7 separate regions of the Homo sapiens genome follow, and all the other regions are linked to region 4. Evidence: promoter capture Hi-C in 16 types of primary human blood cells and fetal thymus (Javierre and others, 2016). All regions are on one chromosome and are shown on one strand. Each heading gives the region's core, a stretch centred on a gene start or on the middle of the fragment in contact. The rest is flanking DNA. Distances are from core to core; before and after follow the strand shown.

The links. Contacts are between HindIII fragments. The CHiCAGO score rates a contact against its expected background, and 5 or more counts as called.
Region 1: a fragment that was not itself captured here is called in contact with the fragment with the promoter of SNX33 in region 4 in 10 of 17 cell types (naive CD4 T cells, naive CD8 T cells, total CD8 T cells and 7 more); the score reaches 23.8 in naive CD4 T cells.
Region 2: a fragment that was not itself captured here is called in contact with the fragment with the promoter of SNX33 in region 4 in 5 of 17 cell types (naive CD8 T cells, total CD4 T cells, naive CD4 T cells and 2 more); the score reaches 7.6 in naive CD8 T cells.
Region 3: a fragment that was not itself captured here is called in contact with the fragment with the promoter of SNX33 in region 4 in 6 of 17 cell types (total CD4 T cells, naive CD4 T cells, naive CD8 T cells and 3 more); the score reaches 9.0 in total CD4 T cells.
Region 5: a fragment that was not itself captured here is called in contact with the fragment with the promoter of SNX33 in region 4 in 16 of 17 cell types (fetal thymus, total CD4 T cells, naive CD8 T cells and 13 more); the score reaches 13.0 in fetal thymus.
Region 6: a fragment that was not itself captured here is called in contact with the fragment with the promoter of SNX33 in region 4 in 9 of 17 cell types (activated CD4 T cells, naive CD4 T cells, erythroblasts and 6 more); the score reaches 7.1 in activated CD4 T cells.
Region 7: a contact is called between a fragment that was not itself captured here and the fragment with the promoter of SNX33 in region 4, in 9 of 17 cell types (naive CD4 T cells, naive CD8 T cells, erythroblasts and 6 more). The highest score is 9.6, in naive CD4 T cells.

What each region holds. Positions count from the first base shown.
Region 1 is chr15:75,506,266-75,509,081 of GRCh38, forward strand. It overlaps PTPN9 (protein tyrosine phosphatase non-receptor type 9), which reads right to left. Exons shown (of 13, transcript NM_002833.4): 6 at 2,652-2,762. Among named protein-coding and RNA genes, the nearest start is that of SIN3A, 56 kb to the left of the region's middle. The HindIII fragment of the contact is 2,620 bases long and covers 20-2,639 here.
Region 2 is chr15:75,417,451-75,420,172 of GRCh38, forward strand. The region is part of intron 3 of SIN3A (SIN3 transcription regulator family member A); the gene reads right to left. Among named protein-coding and RNA genes, the nearest start is that of SIN3A, 33 kb to the right of the region's middle. The HindIII fragment of the contact is 5,237 bases long and covers 1-2,722 here.
Region 3 is chr15:75,488,913-75,491,612 of GRCh38, forward strand. It overlaps PTPN9 (protein tyrosine phosphatase non-receptor type 9), which reads right to left. Exons shown (of 13, transcript NM_002833.4): 8 at 1,296-1,389. All of the region lies in intron 2 of LOC105370902 (a long non-coding RNA gene), which reads left to right. Among named protein-coding and RNA genes, the nearest start is that of SIN3A, 39 kb to the left of the region's middle. The HindIII fragment of the contact is 274 bases long and covers 1,230-1,503 here.
Region 4 is chr15:75,646,530-75,649,490 of GRCh38, forward strand. It overlaps SNX33 (sorting nexin 33), which reads left to right and starts at 1,383. Exons shown (of 2, transcript NM_153271.2): 1 at 1,383-2,961. The coding sequence starts at 2,574. RefSeq lists a silencer at 1,002-1,541 and an enhancer at 1,167-1,858. The HindIII fragment of the contact is 30,102 bases long and covers 23-2,961 here.
Region 5 is chr15:75,445,829-75,448,744 of GRCh38, forward strand. The region is part of intron 1 of SIN3A (SIN3 transcription regulator family member A); the gene reads right to left. Among named protein-coding and RNA genes, the nearest start is that of SIN3A, 4.4 kb to the right of the region's middle. The HindIII fragment of the contact is 2,544 bases long and covers 270-2,813 here.
Region 6 is chr15:75,463,976-75,466,849 of GRCh38, forward strand. It overlaps PTPN9 (protein tyrosine phosphatase non-receptor type 9), which reads right to left. Exons shown (of 13, transcript NM_002833.4): 13 at 1-2,874. Among named protein-coding and RNA genes, the nearest start is that of SIN3A, 14 kb to the left of the region's middle. The HindIII fragment of the contact is 1,761 bases long and covers 667-2,427 here.
Region 7 is chr15:75,398,672-75,401,371 of GRCh38, forward strand. It overlaps SIN3A (SIN3 transcription regulator family member A), which reads right to left. Exons shown (of 21, transcript NM_001145358.2): 11 at 2,059-2,269; 12 at 1,369-1,485. Among named protein-coding and RNA genes, the nearest start is that of MAN2C1, 31 kb to the left of the region's middle. The HindIII fragment of the contact is 167 bases long and covers 1,360-1,526 here.

The DNA.
Region 1 (2,816 bases), core at 80-2,579, 140 kb before region 4:
GGACGATGTAGTGAACAAAAGCTTTATATTATTAACAAGGCTTCCCAGCATCGCTGCATGCTGGTACTCTTTTTTTGGCCACTAAGAATGCATAGGTAGTAGTTATTTTTGTCAACCCCATACTCAGACAACCAATTCTAAGGCCTGTTAGCTTGTATTTTACTCAGCTTGGTATAACTGTTCACAAAGATAGGATTCTATGAAAGCAAGACACCCAGAGGCAGGGTAGCCCAGGAAAAATGTGAGATAACACTTTTTTTTTGAGACAGGGTCTCACTTTTTCACCCAGCCTGGAGTGTAGTGGCGTGATGAAGGCTCACTGCAGCCTCAACCTCCTGGGCTCAAGTGATCCTTCCACCTCAGCCCCTCAAGTAGCTGGGAATACAGATGCACACAACCACGCCCAGCTAATTTTTTGTAGTAACCATAAAACTTAATTCTGCTCTCTGCTTGGACATAGCCATGCTGGAACTAATTAGCTTAACTGGTTCTCCTTAGGATCTCTGTGGAATGGGGATTCTCTTCCTCCTAAAAGCTCATCTCTTTTGCTGTCGCCTCTTCTTGGAATGCCTTCCTTTCCTCCTCTGCCTCTTCATGGACCAGCACAGCTCACCTCTTCTGTGAAGTCTTTCCTGACTGCCTGAGGCCATATGCTCCTCTGCGTTCCTGCAGAGCCAAAGTCCTCCTATGTGTATCTCTGTGTTCCCTATCAAGACCATGAGCTCCTTGAGGGTAGACTGTCTCACTTAATTTTTAATTATCAGGAACCAGTGCTTCGACTACAAAAAGTGCTTAATATATTTTGAGTTTATACATGCATGTATAATTCCTATAATTCAAGTGCAAGAACTTGCCTATGGATTCCTCTCAAAGAGTTACCTTAGAAAAGATCTCTCCAGCTGGCACGGTGGCTCATGCCTATAATCCCAGCACTTTGGGAGGCTGAGGCAGGTGGATCACCTGAGGTCAGGAGTTTGAGACCAGCCTGTCCAACATGGTGAAACCCCATCTCTACTAAAAAAATACAAGAATTAGCTGGGCATGTTGGCAGGAGCCTGTAATCCCAGCTACTTGGGAGGCTGAGGCAGGAGAATCACTTGAACCCGGGGGACGGAGGTTGCAGTGAGCCAAGATCATGCCATTGCACTCTAGCCTCAGCGACAACAGCAAAACTCTGTCGCAAAAAAAAAAAAAAAAAAAGAAAGAAAAGATCTCTCCTGGCTGGGCACGGTGGCTTATGCCTGTAATCCCAGCACTTTTGGGAGGCTGAGGTGGGTGGATCACGAGGTCAGAAGATCAAGACCATCCTGGCTAACACAGTGAAACTCCGTCTCTACTAAAAACACAAAAAATTAGCCGGGCGTGACAGCACACGCCTGTAGTCCCAGCTACTAGGGAGGCTGAGGCAGGAGAATGGTTTGAACCTGGGAGGCGGAGCTTGCAGTGAGCCGAGATCGCTTCACTGCACTCCAGCCTGGGAGACAGAGCGAGACTCCGTCTCAAAAAAGGTGGCTCACGCTTGTAATCCCAGCACTTTGGGAGGCTGAGGTGGGCGGATCATGAGGTCAGGAGTTCGAGACCAGCCTGGCCAATATGGTGAAACACCGTCTCTACTAAAAATACAAAAATTAGCTGGGTGTGGTAGCGTGCGCCTGTACTCCCAGCTACTCAGGAGGCTGAGGCAGAAGAATCGCTTGAACTCAGGAGGCGGGGCTGCAGTGAGCCAAGATCGTGCCACTGCACTCCAGCCTAGGCAACAGAGTGAGACACTCTCAAAAAAAAAAAAAAAAAAAAAAAAAGAAAAGCTCTCTCCTACTCTGCGTCATTAGGTCTCTAAGCAGCTTCCACAGAACCAAATGTTTTCACTTTCATGTCCTGTCTTTTAATTGCTGCAATCAGTAACTGAGACCATAAATCTTTTAATCATGGAACACGCAGGAGATTATAACAGAATTAAAGTTTCTGGTTTTATTGTGGCGGCGGGGTCTCACTGTGTTGCCTAGGCTGGTCTCAAACTCCTGGCCTCAAGCGATCTTCCCGCCTTGGCCTCGGACTCCCAAAGTGTTAGTATTATAAGCATGAGCCATTACACTTGGCCCAGAATTAAAGTAATTTTGAACGCTTTTGAAATTGGGAAGCAACAAGGTATTCTGAGAAAAAAAAATGCCAGGAATAAATGTAGAAAGAGACATAACGAAAAACTTTCCTCCACAACCCTGGTGGTCAAGGGATTGAATGATGTTTCCAGTTGAACAAATTCTAATGCCAGTTCAACTAATGCAGTTATATTACAAGCTGTTAAATATTAAAGGCCTATGCAGCACTAGGATAAATTTTGGAAGTAGCAGCTATCCCTAAGTTACCTCCAGGACACGTTCCTTCAGTACTATCTTATGCAAGGTGCTATAGAAAGTGAGAACCAGATAAACTGTGTTTAGTTTTGAACTTCAAGAAGCTCGTAGGACAGTAAGAGAGGCAGTCTGTATTGAACTGACTAATGCATCAGGTAGAGAATATAAGTGAATGCACTAACAGAAGCAGAACAGGCTCTAGAAGACACGCCAGGAGGATTTTTTGAAGGTAGAAAATTAATTGGCAGGAATTCACTGTATCTATTCACCTCCAGATAAAAAAGGGCAAGCTTGCCTTACCCTCTCCCGGACTTTGTCCTTCAGGAGGAGACTGATGATGGAATAGGGCACTCGGAACCATATGGGTGCCCCCACAATCAGCACCTTCTTCAAACGAGCTGGAAATGCTCCCTGTGGAGAAAACACATGAGGATTTAAGTGTAATGGAACCTGTGACTCTTCAAG
Region 2 (2,722 bases), core at 39-2,538, 230 kb before region 4:
CTGCAACTTCTGCCTCCTGGGTTCAAGTGATATCTCCTGCCTCAGCCTCCTGAGTAGCTGGGATTCCAGGCGCATGTCACCACATCCAACTAATTTTTTTGTATTTTTAGTAGAGATGGGATTTCACCATGTTGGCCAGGCTGGTCTTGAACTCCTGACCTCAACTGATCCGCCTGCCTCAGCCTCCCAATGTGCTGGGATTACAGATGTGAGCCACCACACCTGGCCAGGCATAGATAGTCTTTTGATTTGTTGCAAAATGGAACATTTACATTCAAGTCAATCATTAACTGGTGCTGTGGTCTGAAATGTGTCCCACAAAATTCTTACATCGAAACTTAATCACCGATATGATGATATTAAGAAGTGAGGCCTTCAGAAAGTGATTGTGGAGCCCTCATGAATGGGATTAGGGACCTTATAAAAGGGCTGGAGTGAACCAGTGTTAGTCCCTTCGGCCCTTCTCCCTTCCAGTGTAAGGACACACATTCAGGGACCATCTCGAAAAACAGAGTTCAGGCCCTCACCAGACACCAAACCAACTGGCACCTGGATTTTATTTTATTATTTATTTTATTTATTATTATTATTATTTTTTTAGATGAAGTCTTGCTCTTGTCTCCCAGGCTGGAGTGCAAAGGCACGATCTCAGCTCAATACAACCTCCGCCTCCCGGGTTCAAGCGATTCTCCTGCCTCAGCCTCTTGAGTAACTGGGATTATAGGCGCCTGCCACCACGCCCAGCTAATTTTTGTATTTTTAGTAGAGATGGGGTGTCACCATGTTGGCCAGGCTGGTCTCAATCTCCTGACCTCGTGATCCGCCCGCCTCGGCCTCCCAACGTGCTGGGATTACAGGCGTAAGCCACTGCGTCTGGCCTATTTATTTATTTTGAGACATGGTCTCACTCTGTCACCCAGGCTGGAGTGCAGTGGCACAAATTCGGCTCACTGCAACTTCCACCTCCTGAGTTCAAGCGATTCTCGTGCCTCAGCCTCCAGAGTAACTGGGATTACAGGTGCATGCCATCATGCCTGGCTCATTTTTTTGTATCTTCGGTAGTTTTACCATGTTGGCCAGGCTGGTCTTGAACTCCTGACTTCAAATGATCTGCCCTCCTCAGCCTCCCAAAGTGCTGGGATTATAGGCGTGAGCCACCGCACCCGGCCAGCACCTTGATTTTAGATTTCCCAGCCCCCAGAACTTCTCCAGAACTGTGAGAAATAAACTGCTATTATTTAGATTATACAGTCTCAGGTATTTTGTTATAGCAGCACTAATGGATTGAGACAAATGGCCGCTTTTTTGTTTTTGTTTTTTTTGAGACAGAGTCTCGCTCTATCGCCCAGGCTGGAGTGCAGTGGCGCTTTCCCGGCTCACCGCAAGCTCTGCCTCCCGGGTTCACGCCATTCTCCTGCCTCAGCCTCCCAAGTAGCTGGGACTACAGGCGCCCGCCACCACGGCCGGCTAATTTTTTTTTCTATTTTTAGTAGAGACGGGATTTCACTGTGTTAGCCAGGATGGTCTCGATCTCCTGACCTCGTGATCTGCCCGCCTCGGCCTCTTAAAGTGCTAGGATTACAGGCGTGAGCCACCGCACCCGGCCCCGAGACAAATGGCTGTTTAAGAGTTCTTCAGACTTCCATTACGGCCATGGTTAATCAGTGTTTCGGTGTTGCTAGAAATCAGATTGTATAGTTGGTCAATACCCACTTGTTTGATGGTTAGTTTTTCTATACAAATATCATGACAATTTCTGTTGAAATTCAATGGACTATTTTAATTCATATTCTGAACTTTCCATACTAAAATGTTTCATTAATGACCAACTTAAGTGAACACAAAATATATTAAGTTTGCAAAAGGAACCAAGACTTTGGAAGATATTTAAGAATAGCATGCATCATTACACAACAAAAGAACAGTTATCAATAAGACATGGTATGGTATAAGGTAACTACTGCAGAGACGGAAAAAGTACAGAAACCCAAAAGAAAGCAATTATGTGTGATATGTATATGTCTGAAACAAAAAGGTACTGAAAGTCACAGCAAACCAAGCAAACCACTGTTTAAAAATTAGTTATAGGCCAGGTGTGGTGGCTCATGCCTGTAATCCTAGTACTCTGGGAGGCCAAGGAGGGTGGATCCCTTGAGGCCAGGAGTTTGAGAGCAGCCTGGCTAACATGGAAAAACCCCGTCCTAGTAAAAAAAAAAAAAAATACAAAAATTAGGCTTGGTGGTGCATGCCTGTAATCCCAGCTATTTGGGAGACTGAGGCATAAGAATCACTTGAACCCAGGCAGGGGAGGGTGCAGTGAGTTGAGATGGCGCCACTGCACTACAGCCTGGGCAGCAGAGTGAGACTCTGTCTCAAAAAAACAAAAAAGTAAAATAAAAGTTATAGAATAATCCTATGCTTTAAAAACTCTGCATGACACTCACATAATAAATAAGACACCTACATGTAAAAATAGTGAGGAAATTCTCTCATCACCTAAAGCATAGTCCAACTCTTATATAAACTCTCTATAAATGCATGTATACAGTTCTAGGTAGCACAACTTAAAAAAAAAACTTGGATGTAGTTATTTAGAAGCTACAGATTTAAGGAAGCACTTGGGGAGACCCTTAGACTCTGCTGATAAAGTTTCTTAGCTCACTTCAACAGGGATTTACTATTAAGGCCCCGAATCTCCTGAAGTCTACAATCTTGTTGGGAG
Region 3 (2,700 bases), core at 117-2,616, 160 kb before region 4:
TGCCTGTAATCCCAGCACTTTGGGAGGCCGAGACGGGCGGATCACGAGGTCAGGAGATCGAGACCATCCTGGCTAACATGGTGAAACCCCGTCTCTACTAAAAACACAAAATATTAGCCGGGCGTGGTGGTGGGCACCTGTAGTCCCAGCTACTCGGGAGGCTGAGGCAGGAGAATGGCGTGAACCTGGGAGGTGGAGCTTGCGGTGAGCCAATATTGCGCCACTGCACTCCAGCCTGGGGGACAGAGCAAGACTCCGTCTCAAAAAAAAAAAAAAAAAAAAAAAATTTGTCCTAATGTTACCCTAACAGATTTTCCTGGTTTAGGATAAAATTTCCAGTCACAATGCCACACACTTAAAAGTAAATAAAGATGTTGTACTCTGGAAAACCTTGTTAGACTGACTCAAAAATTGGCCTGTAATTCCAGCACTTAGGGAGGCTGAGGCAAGAGGATTGTTTGAGCACAAGAGTTCAAGACCAGACTAGGCAACATAGTGAGAACTTGTCTCTACAAAAGTATTTAAAAATTAGCCATGTATGTGGCACACACCTGTGGTCTCAGCTACTTGGGAGGCTGAGGTACAAGAATCACTTGAGCCCAGGAGGTCAAGGTTGCAGTGAGCTGTGATCACTGTACCTAGCCTGGGCAATAAAGCAAGACCTTGTCTTGAGGGAGAAAAAAAAAAGTGGCTCAAATGTGACAAAGACACTAAAGTTAAAGGTGTATGTAAAGTGTTTGAATAAAATGTTCATTAAATATCTCTGTTAATAGATTACATATGAGGCTTTTAACATGTAGATATAATCAAATTAATATATTAAATAATATAGTCATTTGACCATTTCATCTCTATCCCTAGACATTTATGTATACATAAGTTGTCCACAATTTCCTCAGATACAGATGGAGAAATCAGAGGTCACTTATAATCAAAGTTGCTTTGTATTGATGCATATATACTCACCAAAGGAATTGCACTATATGACCATGACTTTACAACTAAGGAGTAAAATGATAAATAATTTAACATCTATGAAGCACCTACAATACAACAGACCTTGCACTATCAGCATTCACATAAAGAATTTCATTTAATTTCCACTCAATACTGTGAGATGGGCATTTGAGGACTTGCCTATGGTCACAGACTAGTATGTAGCAAAATATAAACTCAAACCTAATCTCTCTGGCCTCGGAGTCTACTTTCATTCTACCGAAGTATTAGTAAGCTTCACTTTGGAAGAAGCTCTATTTCCCCCAGTGCACCTAAAAAGATTACATTTATCTGTCTACCTGAGTATGGCCACTTCGCTTTGTTAGCTTCACTCTAGTTTGGTCCAGGCAGGGTACATCCCCATAACGGTTTTTCTCTAGGTTTCCTGGAGACCTGAAGGAAACGAAACAAACAAGCAAGAATAAAGAAAAAGTGGGGACAGTATGTATGTACAAAATCTGACCATGCTAAAGGGGTGTCAATTACTCTTAGGGGTGGAGACATGGAAGCTTTTCAATTTCTAGCCCATACAGTTCCATATCATTTAACATTTTTTGTGGTAAGTACATACTACTTCTAAAAGTAAACATATCTCCATTCAAAAGAGAGAGGGAGACCAGGCATGGTGGCTCACACCTGTAGTCCCAGCACTTTGGGAGGCAGGAGGATTGCTTGAGGCCAGGAGTTCGTGAGCAGTCTGGGAAATGTAATGAGAGCTTATCTCTTTTTTTTTTGAGACGGAGTCTCGCTCTGTTGCCCAGGCTGGAGTGCAGTAGCGTGATCTCGACTCACTGCAAGCTCTACCTCCTGGGTTCACGCCATTCTCCTGCTTCAGCCTCCTGAGTAGCTGGGACTACAGGCTCCCGCCACCACGCCCAGCTAATTTTTTTGTATTTTTAGTAGAGACGGGGTTTCACCATGTTAGCCAGGATGGTCTCGATCTCCTGACCTCATGATCTGCCCGCCTCGGCCTCCCAAAGTGTTGGGATTACAGGCATGAGCCACTGCGCCCTGCCTAATGAGAGGTTATCTCTAGAGAGAAGTCAAAAAATTAGCCGGGCATCATGGCACACACCTGTACTCCTAGCTGCTCAGGAGTCTAAGGTGGGAGGACGGCTTCAGCCCAGGAAGTCAAGGCTGCAGTGCGCTATGACAGCGCCACTGCACACCAGCCTGGGTGACGGAGAGAAACCCTGACTTAAAAAAAAGAGAAGCTGGGTGTGGTGGCTCATGCCTGTAATCCCAGCACTTTGGGAGGCCAAGGCGGGTGGATCACCTGGGGTCAGGGGTTCAAGACCAGACTGGCCAAGATGATAAAACCCTGCCTTTACTAAAAATACAAAAATTAGCCAGGTGTGATGGCACACACCTGTAATCCCAGCTACTCAGGAGGCTGAGCCAGGAGAATCGCTTGAACCTGGGAGGTGGAGGATGCAGTGAGCCAACATCACACCACTGCACTCCAGCCTGAGTGACAAAGCAAGACTTTATCTCAAAAAAAAAAAAAAATAATTAAATTTAAAAACAGAGAGAAGGAGTGGGGATGGGAGTCCCAAATGGCCAAGGCAGAAATTGGTACTAAGAAGTGGGGTGCTTCTGTAACAAATAACTAAAAATGTGGAAGCAGCTTTGGACCTGGGTAATGGACAGAGCTGATAGAATTTGGAAGTACATGCAGAAAAAGCCTATGTTGCCATAAACAGG
Region 4 (2,961 bases), core at 133-2,632:
TTAGGCACTTCCTCCTTCAGGAAGCTTTCCTTGATCCTTGCTCTACCCAGGCTGGGGTAGGTACCCTCATGTGCACTTTTCATGGCACTAACTAGTCACACTGGGCAGGGAGCATTTGTCTACTTGTCACAACATATCTGAGCTTTTGGAAAATAAGGATAATGTCTTATTTGTCTTTGTAGCTCAGGGGCCTGGTGCAGAGTAGGTACTCAGTTAATGTTTCTTGAGTGCATGACTTGGCTGAATGAATGACTGAGACAGAATGGATTGATTAAAGACAAGAGAGGGTGGACTGTAAGCCCCCCAGGATAGAAACCCCGACTGCCTTGTGGTGTACTACTCCCCAGTGCCCAGCACAGTGCCTAGCAGAATCAATGCCCAAAGTGTTCCCGATATGCTGACCGAGGGTCAGATCCCACTTGCCTCTTCTCGAAGATTCTCTACCTGACCACTTCTCTCCTTGCTGCCGCTGGCTAGCACAGAACATCCAGTCCCCGCTGCTGTACTAAGCAACACGGAACCGGGTGGCACCTAGACTTGTTCCCTGTCGCTGCAGATGTAGAGTAGTGTCTTTCCCTCCTTCCAAGCTAGTCGCCCAGGGCAGGGTCGCCCTGTCTGGCTAGGGTGCTGCACCCGCAGCTCTCGGTATCTTAGGTCAGACGCCTGGAACGCGCAGGCCGTTTCTGTTCCTCCGGAAAACAATCTCTGAGCTGCGCCACGACCCGTCCCTGCGGAGCAGGAGTGGGGAATGGGAAGGTGGGAAGGCGAGTCCGCGACTCTGCTCCCCAACCCCAGCTGGCGCGGCGGCTTTCCACGCACCCCCCTCCCCCCACCCCGATCTCCCGATCCTGGCTCTGGCGCGGTGCTCCTTGCAGCCCCACGCTTTGCAAACTTTCGGAGTTTTACTCCATTTGCGTCACGGAAAAGGCAGGAGGATGACGGAGTCCAGGAAGCGAGGCAGCGGCAGCTGGCAAGCTCCCCCGCCGGGCGCTCCAACCACGGGGGCGTGAGGTGTCTCCCGGCGAGGGCGGACAGGCGGAGGGAGAGGAGGGGAGGTGGCGGTCCCAGGGACCAGCCCCGGAGGCTCTCGGGCCCCCTCGTTCCCGGGTCGTTTCCTCCCTCTCGCCTCCCGGACTGAGCGCCAGCGAGCGAGGGCGCTGGCCAGCTGGGAAGCCGCGCGGAGGAGTAGGCGGGGGCTCGGCTGCAGCGCCCCGGGCCCGCGGGAGGGCGGAGCTGGCCGTCCCTGCCCCGCCGGGACGCACGGAAGTGCAGCGGAGTTTGCCCGATTCTCCAGCCTGCTTCCCCCTCCCTCCTCCCTCTCCCCACCCCTCACCTCCCCTTTGGCGATCCCCTCCTTCCTCAGGACGCCACCTCCCGGAATCGCCTTTTTGTTTTGGAGCTGCCTTCTCGCTGGCGGAGCGGAGGGTCTGCGAGCGCCGGGGAAGGCAGGCTGGGGGCGCAGCCCGCCCCCCACTGGCCGGGCCCCGCAGGGCGGAGAGGAGGACGGACGGACAGACGGCTGGCCGCGCCATCTGCTCGCCGGAGCTCACTCTCCAAACTCCAAACTGTTGAGTGTGTGCGTGCACGCGAGGGTGGTGATCGGGGGTCGTAAGTCCCGGGTGAGGAACCGGTTTCTGCTGGGGTTACCTTTGGACGGGGTTCCTGGGATTCAGAGCAGGGTCAGCGTCAGGCTCAGAAACTGCTGAGGAATTAGGCAAACAAAAGAGACCACTCAGCGAGTGGCTAGAAGTCGCCCGACAGCCTCGTCGCGCCCCCTCCTTCCTCCGGGGTTGGGGCTGGCCACTTCTGGGGCGGGGAGAGGGCGCCCGAGCCGGCGGGGGCTCCGGCTGCGCAGCCGGGGTCGAAGAGTTGGCGGCCTGTTGTGTAAGCCTCAGTCCTTGTTTTCCCGGCCTGGCTCGTTGTGAAGCCGGACACATCCACCCTTGGACTCGATTCAGGCGGCTGCTGCTTTTCTCCTTGCCCCTCTTGGATTTTCCGGATTTTTGAAAACCCAGTGGCCCAGGAGCAAGAGGAGGAAGGAGGAAGGGGCAGATCTGCAGAGGAATGTGAGAGCCTCCCAAAGCGAGAGCCGCCAAAAGAATCTGGGAGCCAGAGGGACAGCCGAGCCCTGCCCGGGTTTCTGGAATGGTGGTTTCAGAGTGAGTCTCTTCTATTTTAGAACGTTGTTCCAGTGGAAAGTGTCGAATTTTTCCCCTCGCAGGGCAGATTTCTCCAGGTCACTTGACTTTTCTTCTGGGAGTAGGAGTTAGGAGAGATTCCCCTCTAACCCCCCAGAGGCTGCTAAGGGAGGAGGAGACTGTGGACATGAGCCCTCCCTGCTCACAAGCATATGCCCGGAGACCTGATAGGGCAGTTTCTGGGCCATGGACATTGCTTTGAAGAGGGGGAGACTGGACAGCATCTGTGGGTGCTGAGACCCCACCTTAGGACCTGAGAGATTGAACTGTGTAAGCGCCATTCAGCTGCGAGTGCATTCTTGGACTGCCTTGTGAGCATCCCCGGTCTGGGCAGGACCCTCTCCTTCCCATCTTTCTATACCACCCAGCCCAGCCATGGCACTGAAAGGCCGAGCCCTCTATGACTTTCACAGTGAGAACAAGGAGGAAATCAGCATCCAGCAGGATGAGGACCTGGTCATCTTTAGCGAGACCTCACTGGATGGCTGGCTGCAGGGCCAGAACAGCCGTGGGGAGACAGGGCTCTTTCCTGCCTCTTATGTGGAGATCGTCCGTTCTGGCATCAGCACCAACCATGCTGACTACTCCAGCAGCCCTGCAGGCTCTCCCGGAGCCCAGGTGAGCTTGTACAACAGCCCCAGTGTGGCCAGCCCAGCTAGGAGTGGTGGGGGCAGTGGCTTCCTCTCAAACCAGGGTAGCTTTGAGGAGGATGATGATGATGACTGGGATGACTGGGACGACGGATGCACAGTGGTGGAGGAGC
Region 5 (2,916 bases), core at 292-2,791, 200 kb before region 4:
TCTTGAAAGGACAGGTGGAAGTGTCACTCACATCTCACACTGCTTTTATCACATTAGCTCTTCTGCTCCCACACAAACATGGGCACATAACATCTTTAACCATCTATGTATCCTCTACCATGCTCAGCATACTGCTTTGTCTTGTCTGTGGTGGAAACCAAATCATTCATTCATGTATACATTCTCTAATATCTACTGAGCACATACTATGCACCAGGTGTTTTAGGAGCTGGAGATACAACGGTAAACAAAAATCTCTTCCCTCAAGAAGCTTATATTTTAGTGAAAGATGACACAATAGACAAAGTATAATATTTAGAATAGTAGGCAGTGACAGGTATCAAGAACAAAAGGCAAGGAAGAGTTTTTGAAATTGTAGATAAGAATGGTCAGATAATACCTACTGATAAGGTAACTTCTGAGTAAAGGAAGTGAGGGAGCTAGTCATGCAGAAATTAGTGGAGGAAGCCTTCTAGGCAGAGGGGACAGCAACCGCAAAGACCCTCATGTCTTTGTGAGGGCTCACATGTGCTTGACATGTTCCAAAACAGCATGAAGGCTGGGTAGCTGAAGAAAAACGAAAGAAGGACTAGTCAGAAATGTAGTCAGAGAGGTACTAGGATAAGGGTGGCAGGCAGAGGGTACATCAGATTTGTTCTTACAGGTGTTTTTTTATTTTTTGACACAGGGTCTCATTTTGTCGTCAAGGCTGGGGTGCAGTGGCACAGTCATGGCTCACTGCAGCCTCAAGCTCCTGAGCTCAAGCAATCCTCCTGCCTCAGCCTCTCAAGTAACTGGGACTACAGGCACGCGCCAGCATGCTTGGCTAATTTTTAATTTTTTTATAGAGACAGGGTCTTGTTATGATGCCCAAGCTGGTCTCAAACTCCTGGACTCAAACGATCCTCCCACTTGAGCTCCCAAAATGGTGAAATTACAGACATATCCTTTTTTTTTTCTTTTGAGACAGTCTCGCTCTGTCGCCCAGGCTAGAGTGCAGTGGCACGATCTTGGCTCACTGCAAGCTCCACCTCCCGGGTTCACACCATTCTCCTGCCTCAACCTCCCGAGTAGCTGGGACTACAGGTGCGTGTGCCACCATGCCCGGCTAACTCTTTTGTATTTTTTTTAGTGGAGACCATGTTAGCCAGGATGGTCTCAATCTCCTGACCTCGTGATCCGCCTGCCTCAGCCTCCCAAAGTGCTGGTATTACAGGCATGGGCCACCGCGCCCAGCTCATTACAGACATATCTAAATAAGGACTCAGGTTTAATACTCAGACTGAAATGGAAAGCCACTGGATGGTTTTAAGCAGAGAAGTGACACGGTATGACTTAGGTTTCAAAAGAATCACTTGGGTTGCTATGTTGAGAACACATTTAAGAGCCGCAGTAACAAAACAAGGAGAATAGAATCCAAGCTAGAGATGCACAGGCACTGACTAGGGCAGTGGAGATGCAGATCCTAAGTGGTCTAATTCTGGATAGTATTTTGAATATAAAGCAGTAAAATTTACTGATGGACCACATATGAAAAAGACACAGAAGAGTCAACAATGTCTCTTAGTTATCCAAGAGGAGACATCGAGTGGAGACCTTGAGTGGGCCACTAAACATATTAGTCTATGGTAGAGGGAGAGATCCCCGTTAGAGTCATCAGCATTGTTTGGATTTTAGAAAGGTAATATGGTACATATACTGTATCATCTCTCTCTCCCAGCTAGGGCTGAGTAGCTCCCCATAATCAAGCAGTCACATTTCTGCATCATGCAGGATAGCCCAGGTCAGGCTGTACCCCAAAACTAGTTGTGGAACTAGACTTACCAAAAAACAAAAACTCTTGCATTTCAGAACTGCAAATAAAGGATGTGGACCTGCATATCCTCCAATAGCCCATATGTCAGCAAGCCTAGCCCTGGAGGACACCAAGAAGACTCATGAAGGGTCCACTGTCATGCTGAGAAATATGGGTAACATACAAGCATACAAGACAAAAAGTGGGTAGGGAAAACAAAAGCAAAAGGGGCAAATAAGAAATACATCAGGTAGAAATTGCCACCCATGACCGGGCACGGTGACTCACGTCTTAATCCTAGCACTTTTGAGAGGCTGAGGCAGAAGGACCTCTTGAGCCCAGGAGTTCGAGACCAGCCTGGGCAACACAGCAGGACTTCACCTCTATAAAAATATAAAAAAAATTAGCCAGGTGCGTGGTGGCACACACCTGTAGTCCCAGCTACATGGGAGGCTAAGGTAGGAGGGTCGCTTAAGTCCAGAAGATCAACACTGCAGTGAGCTGTGATCATGCCACTGCACTCCAGCCTGGTGACAGAGCGAGACTTCGTCTAAAAAAAAAAAAAAAAAGACATGAGAAAAAAAGACATTATGCGGCCGGGTGCAGTGGATCATGCCTGTAATCCCAGTACTTTGGGAGGCTGAGGCGGGCGGATCACGAGGTCAGGAGTCTGCGACCAACCTGATCAACATGGTGAAACCCTGCCTCTACCAAAAGTACAAAACTTAGCCAGGCGTGTGGTGGCGCCCCAGCTTCTTCTTCGTGGAGGCTGAGGCAGGACAATCGCTAGAACCCGGGAGGCGGAAGTTGCAGTGAGCTGAGATTGCACCACTGCACTCCAGCCTGGGAGACAGAGCAGGACTCCATCTCAAAAAAAAAAAAAAGTCTAGTGCCTAACACAGTATCTGTGACACAGTAAGTGCTCAATAAATATCAGCTTTTATTTTTCAAGGGGCGAGGAAGGTGTATTTTGAAAAAGCATATACTATTTATTTTTTTAAAGGCCTACAGAAAGTAAAGCTTAACAAACTCTTGGCTGGTGGATTGCCCAGAAAAGAGAGAAAGCCATGAAAAGCACTATGCTAAACTACTGAATGCCAGGGATATAACCTCTTAATTCC
Region 6 (2,874 bases), core at 297-2,796, 180 kb before region 4:
GAAACCCTGTAGACCCCACATTAAGAAACAGGGAAACTTTAAAGGCCTATAGGCTGGTCTTGGAGATGACAGAGACCTGACCTGCTTTTCCTCCAATTGGAAGGCCAAGGGGGAAGAGAACTGAGGGAAGCTAGGGAAGTAGCAGCAGCTTGAAAGAAGAGACTCTGAAAACACACTAAAACTGGAGAGGCTGGGTGTGGTGGCCCATGCCTGTAATCCTCTCACTTTGGGAGGCCGAGGCAGGAGGATTGCTTGAGGCTGGAGTTCGAGACCAGCCTGGGCAACATAGTGAGATCCTGTCTCTAGAGAGAGAGAGAGAAAAAAAAAAAAAGCTGGGTTCCTGCTTGAGCCCAGTTGTTGAGACTGCAGTGAGCCATGATCATGCCACTCCCCTCTAACCTAGGCAACAGAGTGAGACTCTGTCTCTGAAAGTAAAAAAAATGAAAAGTGGGGAGTGCTAGTGGGAGCCAACTCAACCCAAGTAAAGGCCTAATAGCTCCTCTATGGGTGTTTGCACTGTCTAACAAAGAACTGGACCCTGACAGTCAGAGGACCCATGGTAGGATCATCTAGTGTAGCCCCTTCTTTTACAGAGGGAACCTAGGACTTGGGTTTGGTTCAGTGGTAAGACCTCAAAACCACAAAAGAGCTGGGTCACTCTAGAGAAGCTTTTCTACTTGGCCAATGCCTCTTGGCCCAATTCCCTCTAGGTCTCTGATTTATAAAAGTTTTTGTATGTGTGTCTGTCTGTCCCAAGAGACAGGAAGCATTCCTTTCAGGGAAGGAACCAAATTTCCCTAGGGCTATGATGCTAAATAGTCCATTCTCCCAAGAACAAGTCCTACTCTGTCATTTACCTGCATACTGTCACATGAAGACTGATAAGGGTGGGCCTCCGAGGCTGAGGATGCTGGGGCACCCTTCGTCTCAGGAGTCCCATCCTAGCCAATGAGGATGGGCAAGATGAAGGGAGCAATGGGAAAAAGGACACAGGGATTATCTCATGTTTGAAAAATTATATAGCATGGGAATGTTAGAGAAAGGTGAAACAAACAGCCATCAAATCAGAAGCAGAAGCCTGCTTTAGCTCAGTGTTTTCTTCTTTCCTGAACACTGTCTTTCTTTTTTATTTATTTATTTTTTTTGAGATGGAGTTTTACTCTTGTTGCCCAGGCTAGAGTGCAATGGCGCGATCTCGGCTCATTGCAACCTCTGCCTCCCAGATTCAAGTGATTCTCCCATTTCAGCCTCCCGAGTAGCTGGGATTACAAGCACATACCACCACACCCGGGTAATTTTTATATTTTTAGTAGAGATGGGGTTTCATCATATTGGTCAGGCTGGTCTCAAACTCCTGACCTCAGGTGATCTGCCCACCTCGGCCTTCCAAAGTACTGGGATTACAGGCATAAAGCCACTGCACTTGGACCCTGAGCATTTTCTCTTGCTTTGTTCACTAAGTCTCCTGTATGAGAACCCTGACTTGCCAAACAGATTCTGGGTTGCGTCTCTGCCTTCCCTTTCCTTTACCTCCTCCTTTAACACCTAACACAGGTAGGTTCACGCTGGTAAAAGCTACAAACAATGGCAGTGGGAGGAGTTCCTCTGAGTTTTACTGAAAATTTAGGAGACATCAATTTGTTAACTCTCTATAGGGTCAGAAACATGAACTAAATCTATGGTTCCCAAACCTGGATAATCCTGTCACTCACTAACAACCTACTGGATGGGCCCAGAAATCAGCATTTTATGGAGCTGAAGTGATAGATAACCTCACCAGTCTTCAGATATGCAATGAGGAACTCATGCATAACCTTAAATTCACAGGGCAGTCGGGTTACAGCCTCTTCAAATAAATGACAATTTAAAGTTACCTCCTCCAGGCCGTTTATCATTAATCCCATTTCTTACATGTTCCACCAAACCCCTGACCTCTCTGGTTTCTCAGATTTCCAAGAATCTCTGTTCACTTCTTATGTTTGTGCACTCCCAAGAGAATGGAGGCTCATCTGGAGAAGGAACTAGATTAATCTTCTGCTCTACACTTGAGCTCCTGATTATGGTAAGAAACTCGATAAAAATTTATTGGCAGATCAGAAGATGGATCCTTAGAGGAAGTCTAGTGTAAGAGGTGAAAGAAGATACTTTGGAGTCAGATGGTCTGGGATCCTGGCTGTAGCAAATTAACATTCCTGTCTCTCAATTTTTTTCTTCTGTCAATACCTACCTCAAAAGGTTGTTGAGGGTGAATGAGATGATACCTAGAAATTACTCTGAACAGTGCCTGGAATAGAGTGAGCATCCAGTAAATTGGCTGCTATGACTATTATTAAGAACACCCCAATATTTCCCAGCCACAACTGCCCCAACTGGGCAGGCCATCAACAGCCAACAGGTATGATATGGGGAGTGGTCTTCCATGTACAAAGCTTCTGGTTCCTTTCTTTCTAAGAGATAAATGCAAATGACTCAAGATCTTCTCACAAAGACCATGTACCCATAGATATGGAGTCTCCTGGGGAGAATGATAACCCCTTTGGTACGCTGCAGACATGAGGACCCTACATCAGGAGGTCCTAGCTAGGACAGTCAGTCACCAACCCTGTCACCCTTCGCGTCTACTACATGAAGCATGGGCACAAGAACAACAACCTGGAATTTAAGAACTTTTTTTACTCTGAAAGGAGAGCTAAACAAACCTCTGTTCTCCAAACACAAGATCTCCATCTTCCATGCAGTGAAGAGACCACAGGCTTTGTAAGCAGACCAACTTGAGCTCGTTTTAGAGCAAATCACTGTAACCCTCTGGACCTCACCTTCCTCATCTATATAGAAATGAGAAAGGGGTGCACAGGAGAAGGGAGAGAAGATAAT
Region 7 (2,700 bases), core at 193-2,692, 250 kb before region 4:
TGTCTTTAAAAAGAAAGGGGTCCCTAATTTAGCCTTCTTTCAAAAGGAGCCAATCAGGCCAGGTATGGTGGCTCATGTGTGTAATCCCAGCACTTTGGGAGGCCAGGGTGGGATGATCGCTTGGACCCAAGAGTTTGAGACCAGCCTGGGTAATGTAGTAAAACACTGTTTCTATAAAAAACAAAAAATTAGCCACAGGGGGTAGGAGGCAAGGGGAGGGAGAGCATTAGGACAAATACCTAATGCATGTGGGGCTTAAAACCTAGATGATGAGTTGATAGGTGCAGCAAACCACCAAAGCACATGTATATCTATGTAACAAACCTGCACGTTCTGCACATGTATCCCAGAATTTAAAGTTTAAAAAAAAAAAAAAAAAATTTACCCAGGCATGGTAGCACATGCCTGTAGTCCCAGCCACTCGGTGGCGGGTAGGGGTGGGGGTCTGAGGTGGGAGGATCACACTTGAGTCTGGAAGGTTGAGGCTGCAATGAACTGTGATTGTGCCACTGCACTGCAGCCTGGGCAATAGAATGAGACCCTGTCTCAAAAAAACAAAACAAAACAAAGCAATCAGCTGGGCGCAGTGGCTCACACCTGTAATCCTAGCACTTTGGGAGGCCGAGACGGGTGGATCACGAGGTCAGGAGATCGAGACCATCCTGGCTAACACGGTGAAACTCCGTCTCTAATAAAAATACAAAAAATTAGCCGGACGTGTTGGCGGGCGCCTGTAGTCCCAGCTACTCGGGAGGCTGAGGCAGGAGAATGGCATGAACCTGGGAGGCAGAGCTTGCAGTGAGCCGAGATTGCGCCACTGCACTCCAGCCTGGGAGACAGAGCGAGACTCCGTCTCAAAAAAACAAAACAAAACAAACAAACAAACAAACAAAAAACAACAAAGCAATCAATACCAGAAACATGAAAGAAAAATGCCAGTTCTCAGAGCTGGTTTGCTAACCATGGCAAGATACTTGCTAAGGGTAACAATACACACAGATCTTAAATAATTTAAAAACAGCTTCAAGAAAGTACTATAAACCTTAGGATACTGATTTTCTTCACCATGCAAAACATAATAATCTTAAAATGCCATGCAAAATCAAAAGAACTATTATTTAGTCATCAATGGACAATTTCAGTTAAAAGGGCTAAAGTGGCCTAGATAAGTCACATTTGCCATAAAGCATGTACTAATATATACATTTGACCAATGCATAAAGCATGGAAAGTACCACAACAAGCACTTACCATAGAAGAATGTGAGCCTTTGGCTCTTCCATCTTAATAACCCTCAGAGACAGGTACTGATAGTCTCACTGAGCATCTCCCATTTCCCCCAACTTCAAATGCCAAACAAGCTTGTACCTCAAAGCGTTCATCTTCACAACGATAAATATGTTCTTCATATTGAGTCTTCTTGGAACTCACAAAGGTAGAGTCCTCAGACCACGAAGGGAAGGAAACCCAGGTATCATTTAAAACCTTTGGGTAGAAGAAGAGAGACTGAAACAAAAGCCTAAAAAAGCTTTCTGGTGATTAAGCATTCTGAATGAAAAGACAAAACTCTAGCAGAGAAATAGGCAACTAATATTACTTCACAAATTTCACCTTTAGCAAGTTTACAAAAAGCTATTAGTAAGAAAAGGGTGCTGAATATAAGCGGAAATATAATTCCAGTGCTTTGGGAGGACGAAGCAGGAAGATCACCTGAGCCCAGGAGGAGTGACCCAATCTTTACAAAACTAAAAACTTTTATTTTTATATTTTTAGCTGGGTGTGAAGGCATGTGTAAGTCCCAGGTACTTGGGAGGATCATTTGAGCCCAGGAGGTTGAGGCACTATGAGCCGTGATCACATCACTGCACTACAGCCTGGGTGACAAAACGAAACCCTGTCTCAAAAACAAACAAAAAAGTAGAAAACATTTTCTTTTTAAAAAGGATTAAAAGGGTTCTTAATTTCATCATTCATATAAATTCTCAATCCTTGGTACCACCACTCCCTTCTGGAAAAAGCTGAGGACCCAGGGCTGATCTTTGCTAGGGAAGGCCTTACCTCTTTACAGAGAGGAGTCCGTCCTGTACACTTGGGCTGCTGGTAACTCTTTGGTAAGGCTCGATAGCTGGAGCCCAATCGTTTACAAGAAGCATAATCTATCTCCATAGCAATGCCCTCTGTGGCTCGCTCCTTTGGATAAGTTTCCAGATGTACAGACTCCTTATAGCCCAGAAAGTTTTTAAACCAATTAAACAACTCAGGGAATTTCCTGAAGAATCAAACCAAAAAGTGACAAGCAATTAGGGGCAGGATGCAGTTATCCTGAGGTATGACTACTACCATCTGGTTTTGGATCAGAAATCTGCTACCAGGGATGAATTATTTCCTGCCTAAGAAGAACTGCTTCTGAGCATTTGGTTTCCCCTTTTTCTAATAAAATACTCTCAGATCAGTTAAAGTGGTGATCAAAGAGTTGTACCGAAACCAGGCAAAATAACAAGCCATTCTTTTGATCAAGAATATTGCTTTAATGTTCACATAATTCTTAGGTTGTCAAATATAGTAAAGATTCCAGACTCGGTGTAGTGGCTCATGCCTGTAATCCCAGCACTTTGGGAGGCCGAGGCAGGTGGATTACCTGAGGTCAGGAGTTCTGGACCAGCCTGGCCAACATGGTAAAACACCGTCTCTACTAAAAAA